Regions from separate parts of the Homo sapiens genome. Here region 2 is linked to region 1. Evidence: promoter capture Hi-C in 16 types of primary human blood cells and fetal thymus (Javierre and others, 2016). All regions are on one chromosome and are shown on one strand. The core of a region is centred on a gene start or on the middle of the fragment in contact, and the rest is flanking DNA. Distances in the headings are between cores, read along the strand shown.

Region 1 (2,500 bases), core at 1-2,500:
GCAGGAAGTAATCTTAAAATGAATAAAAAACTGCCTTTCACATCTGGTATAGAATGATGCTAATGTAAAAGTTAAACATACTTATGAAAATATTGACACATTTGAATTATTTGAATTATTTGAATAATTGTGTTTGCAAAATGGATACATTTTCTACTATGTGTTTGCACTTGTAGAATAATATTATTTACAAAATGTTCTCACATATGTTTTTGTGTGAGAACATGTTTTGTAAAATTGAGATACCGTAAAATACAGCTGTATGTCTAGATGTGTTTTTTACTTAATATTATTTCCTGATACTTTGTGCACATCATTATCTTGTCTTATTTTATCTTCTACTTTCATTTTAGGTTCAGAGGGTACATGTGCAGGCTTGTTAAATGAGTAAACTGTGTGTCGCTGAGGCTTGTTGTCTGGTGATCCCATCACCAAGGTAGCGACATAGTACCAGATAGATAGCCTTCCAACCCACATACTGCTCCCACCTTTCCTCTCAAGCAGTCCCCAGCGTCTACCGTTCCCATCTTGTGCCCATATGGATTCAATGTTTAACTTCCACTTATAAGTGAGAACATGCAGTATTTGGTATTCCTGTGTTAGTTCACTTAGGGTAATGTTCTCTAGCCGTATCCATGTTATGCATATACAGCGTGGAATACTATGCATCCATAAAAAAGAATGAAATCATTATCTTGTCTTTTGCCCAGACCCCAATGGCCACCAAGCTTTCTAACCTCAGAGAATATATACTCAGAGAATTTGTTTTAAAATCTGCAATGGTCAAAATGCATATTCCTTCATTCATGCCCCAGTTGTAGAATAAAGGATATCTACTATCTTTGAAGTAAGTAAAGAATTGGAAGTATTAACTGCAGTTTTCACTTTTCTGAATATAGTTGATACCAGCCCTACTGCCCTCACCCCACTGCCCTGAAGAACCAATATCGATTTTTCCCTTGTGATTTTGTGGCTTTCAAGGAAGCATCTAGATCTTTTCTATAAAAAATACCCACAGTACTCACCTTACTGGGAATTTCTTCAACAGTAGTCCAGATCTTGAGATCTTCAGAAATGTAGGAAATGAGGATTGTTTTGAATAGGGAAATCAGTCAGTAAAGCTCTCAGAAACTGAAATACAGGATGTTATAATCTCCTGAAATGCTAAGAAAATGAAGTATTTTCAAAGACAACAAGGGAAAATGGCCCTTCTTAGAGTCACTTGACTAGTGCTGGCTTCCTCATACTCTGCTTTGCCCTGGGGAGAGAGAAGTTGTGAAACAACGTGCAGACTCCTCCCACCCATATTTTTTGCTTTCCATCCTGTTAGAGAAAATGAACAGTTTCTTTCCTGTAGGTATCTTAATCAAAGTAAAATTTGTATCAAAGTTATATTTAAAATTTTTTTTCTTACAAATGTTGATATCTGAATGGAGTTCCAATCTTAGAACTTTCTTAACCAGCAGACTTACATGTGGGACATTAGGGACCTCTATTCCGATGAATGATTGTCAAATATGAGAGAAGCAAGGTGGTTTCTTCTCCCTCCTTTCCTGTGCGGTTGCAGGGGGAGATCTTGGTAGGAGCATCTATTGCTACCAGTACTTTACTGCATCTCCTGCATGGGAGAATGTCTGCTATGAAATAGCAGTTGGTTTAAATACTACCTGAAGCATTCACCCAGTTATTAATAGTTGACAAACCTAGGGCTTTCCAGATCAGAAAGTTATTATGAATATATAAATCCTTTCTCAAATATATATAAAGGAGTTTAACACTAGCTGTCCTCTTGACTATGACTAGGTTATTTTACCTCAATGATTACATTCATGATTCCTCAGGTTTCCTTCATTATTCATGGAAAAACACAAGTGGATAGTGGGCTCACAACATGACAGCATCGAAGCCTTGAAAATCCTGGAAAATGCACTGAACTTCTGGTAGACCGAGAGTCCTGTTAAACCCTTTGCTCAGCAGTATTTTTTCTGTTAAGGGCAGTGGGTGTCCTTCAGAGTACTAAAACCCCAAGATGTCAAATAAACGACACCAACTGGCAGATGATGTTGTGTTAACCCAGCAGCAGATCTGCAAGCAGGATGTGGCCATGAGTGGAAAATGGGGCCCGAAATACAGCTGTAGGGGAGAAAACAAGTTTTTTTTAAATTTCCCTTTTTAGGTTATTAGTTGACACTCTCCTGAAAACAAACGTCAAATTAACAAAAGAAAAACAAGCAGTTTATTAATGTGTGCTCTACTCATCACAAGGGATAGGCCTCAGTTCAAAAGTATTTCTCTCTCCAGGCTGTGGCTTAGAAACCTTGTTTAAATAGTATTTCAATAAAGAGCCATACGTTCTATATAGTGAAAAGCAAAGGAGAAAGCAGTTCCAGTCATTTAAAAGGTGGGAAAACGTGGGAAGGTAGTAAAATCTGTTCCCAGATTCCTCAGGTTCCTGGTGGCGCCTTCTCCGGGCTGAAAAGCAAGTGCTTTCTCCAGTAAA
Region 2 (3,045 bases), core at 382-2,881, 83 kb before region 1:
ATCACATTTATGTTATATATATTTACATTATGTTTACTCATGTGTTTGGTGCATTGCTTTGAGCATCAATAAGATGATCAATTATCATACAATTTGGTAAATCTGAAACTTGATGGGAAACATGAAGAAATAACTGCCTGCTGGAGAGATTGAGTGGAAGAGCCGTAGCAGAGCTTCCTCTGTGGGACTTGAAGCCTGCTCCTCTTCCTGAAGCTTACCTGAGCTCCAGGAGTTGCCTCTGCTCCTTCAGTTTTGACAGTGCTGCTTGTGGAGGGTGCAGGTGAAGTAGCATCCACTTCCTTCTTCCTCTTTCTTGATAGGGCTGGTCCTTTTACTGGAATAGATTCAATTTTATTCCCAACCAATGCAGAAAAAAGGAAGACATATAAACGATCTCCGACAGCTGAAGCAGTTTCAATACAATTTGCTCTCAGTTCCTGCTTGAGGGTTCAGCTGTGCTTTAGTCTAGCTCTACTGCATTAGCCCAGCCTGGCCTTAAGGAGACCAGCAGTCACAAGACAGGAACAAGCACTGACTCATGCTCCTCAGCACTTTCCTCACTCCTCCCCTGTGCACTGAGCACATGCTTCCTGTTCTCTGAACTCCATGTGCTTCAGTTAACCCTTTCCCAATGCGGTTCTCCGATCATTTTGTTTTAAAAACTAATGTTTTCATGATGGAGACTGCTAGGTCACATTCCCCAGGTAAAGATATTCAAATTATAGAAACCAGCCAAAGGTTTCCATGAGGAAGGATATACTGATTTTGGACTTAGACTTTTTCAAATCCTTTTTTTTAACTTGATATAACAAGAGAGGAGATCACACTTCTGAGAGGCAGGCTCACATGTAAGTATTGCATTTTTTTAAATTATAAAGGGTAGTGATGGGTTAAATGGTCTCAATAGAACAGATACATTCATTGGCTAAATGTACATATCTTGAATTTAAACAGTTTTTATGATTTTATTATTATATAATCTTTCTAATGTACTGGAAGTCTCAGTCCCCCTTCAACTCCCTCTCACTTTTGTTCTTTCACTGATCCCAAATATACATTCTGAAATACTTCAATCTACACCAGTAATGGAATGCACTAAGTTGTCAACTTGTTGGCCTCTGAAGTACCAACATTGTCTCAGCTGTTGAGTCACAAACTGGGGAAAACACATCTCAAGTATGTCCGAGGTGGGGCTCTAATCAATGTTGGGGAGGGTTTGGGGATGGTTGCAGGGAGTGGGTGTTCCCTCTTCCCAATTACCTTTTAACTTTTCTTTTTTAAGAGTTTCAGCCAGGTCTTCAAGCGTTGGTATATCTTCGAAAATTTTTATTAGTTTGCCCAAACCAGCATCACCTCGGAACTTTTCTTCCATCAAGTCAGCAATCTGAATTTTGTCATACTCTTCTCTCATTTTTAAATTAAGTTTTAAATCGTTGCTCAGTAAGGACTTAACCATTCTAAAATGATAATCATTGATGACCTCTAATCCTTTTAGTAGAACAATGTTCTTGTATTTTTTTCCCATCTTTACAGACATAAGTGAGCCTACAAGAGAAAATGGTATATACAGTGTTACACATGTATACAGACAATTTAAAAGATGTATGCCTATGTGAGTGAGTGGCCCATATGAAAGAGTTGTTCATGAATATGTGTGATAAAGAAGGACTCAACGACCAAATGTGTTACTGTAGAAATTGAGTGAAGAACTGCTGGGTTAGGAATGTCTAAGAAATTATTCCCATTGAATGAGAATAGTTGAGTTGGGTCCAGTTGTTAGAGGGAGGTCTGAGAACAAGCAATTGCCTCAGTGTTAAGAGTATGAGCTCTGCAGTGTCAAAGCCCTTGGTTCCTCTTCTTATCCTTTACTGGGGCTGAAGCCTATTCCCCAAATCCTGCCTGTTGTTTCTTAAATCTTCCCACACCCAGTATGACTGGAGCGGCCTAGGTGTAAATGGGCTGCAGCCTCCCACCTTATATGAATAACTTTCTGCTACAGCGCTACAGTTTCATGCTGTGGCACTGACCCTATTCTCCTTGACTCTTCCCTAGTTGGCTTTCATTAGCATCCTCCCTTCTTTGGTGCTAGACCATGGCTTCTGTTCTCTGTACCCATAAAACCATAACTTTGCTGAAAATCTGCATGCTTTCTAGTGCAGCATCACAGTATTTATTCACTGAAATGATTTTATTGGTTGTTTTATTTTTCTTCTTTCAGACTTGATTTGTCTAATTATTTCTTTTCGCACAATCAGTTTTCTCTCGATAAGCCACATTTATATTCCACTGAAATCCTTCAATATTTCTCCTTTTTCTTCCCCAAAATTCCTTGCTTCCTATACTGTCTCAGAAAGTGTTGAATAAGCTGCATCTTTTTTACTTCTAGTACCTTTGTACTCCTTGTATCTATGCTTCACAAAGATGCCGGACACCTTGTGTCTTCATGCCTCATGACTTTGCTAGTTCCTTCTTACTGCCTGGAAAGCCATTCCCACATTTCTTTCTTTGACTACTTCCCATACAACCTTAAGACTCAACTGAGGCTTTGTCTCATGGTAGATTTCAGAGTCTCCCTATGGACAGAGTGTCACTGCTCTTGACCTCTTAACACCTGTACACTTCCATGATGACAGTGCAAGGTATGGATTCCAAAACTTTTAAATTAATGAATTTTTTAATTTTAGGAATGATGTCTTTGTGTATAACCAAGATATCTAAATTTCAGGGGCTATTAATTGGGCCAGGCGCAGTGGCTCACGCCTGTAATTCCAGCATGTTGGGAGGCCGAGGTGGTCGAATCACAAGTTCCGGAGATCAAAAGCATCCTGGCTAACACAGTGAGACCTCGTTTCCACTAAAAATACCAAAAATTAGCCAGGTGTGGTGGCAAGCGCTTGCAGTCCCAGCTACTCGGGAGGCTGAGGCAGGAGAATTGCTTGAACCCAGGAGACGGAGGTTGCAGTGAGCGGAGATCGTGCCACTACACTCCAGCCTGGGTGACAGAGTGAGACTCCGTCAAAAAAAAAAAAAAAAAAAAAAAAAAGC

Evidence for each region. Contacts are between HindIII fragments. The CHiCAGO score rates a contact against its expected background, and 5 or more counts as called.
Region 2: a fragment that was not itself captured here is called in contact with the fragment with the promoter of PYHIN1 in region 1 in 1 of 17 cell types (non-activated CD4 T cells); the score reaches 5.1 in non-activated CD4 T cells.

What each region holds. Positions count from the first base shown.
Region 1 is chr1:158,930,302-158,932,801 of GRCh38, reverse strand. PYHIN1 (pyrin and HIN domain family member 1) reads right to left here and starts at 1,250. Exons shown (of 9, transcript NM_152501.5): 1 at 1,026-1,250. The HindIII fragment of the contact is 3,309 bases long and covers 731-2,500 here.
Region 2 is chr1:159,013,161-159,016,205 of GRCh38, reverse strand. IFI16 (interferon gamma inducible protein 16) reads right to left here. Exons shown (of 12, transcript NM_001376587.1): 2 at 1,261-1,545; 3 at 219-334. The coding sequence starts at 1,525. It overlaps LOC124904432 (a long non-coding RNA gene), which reads left to right and starts at 2,156. Exons shown (of 2, transcript XR_007066671.1): 1 at 2,156-2,639; 2 at 2,726-3,045. RefSeq lists an enhancer at 1-1,189. The HindIII fragment of the contact is 2,831 bases long and covers 216-3,045 here.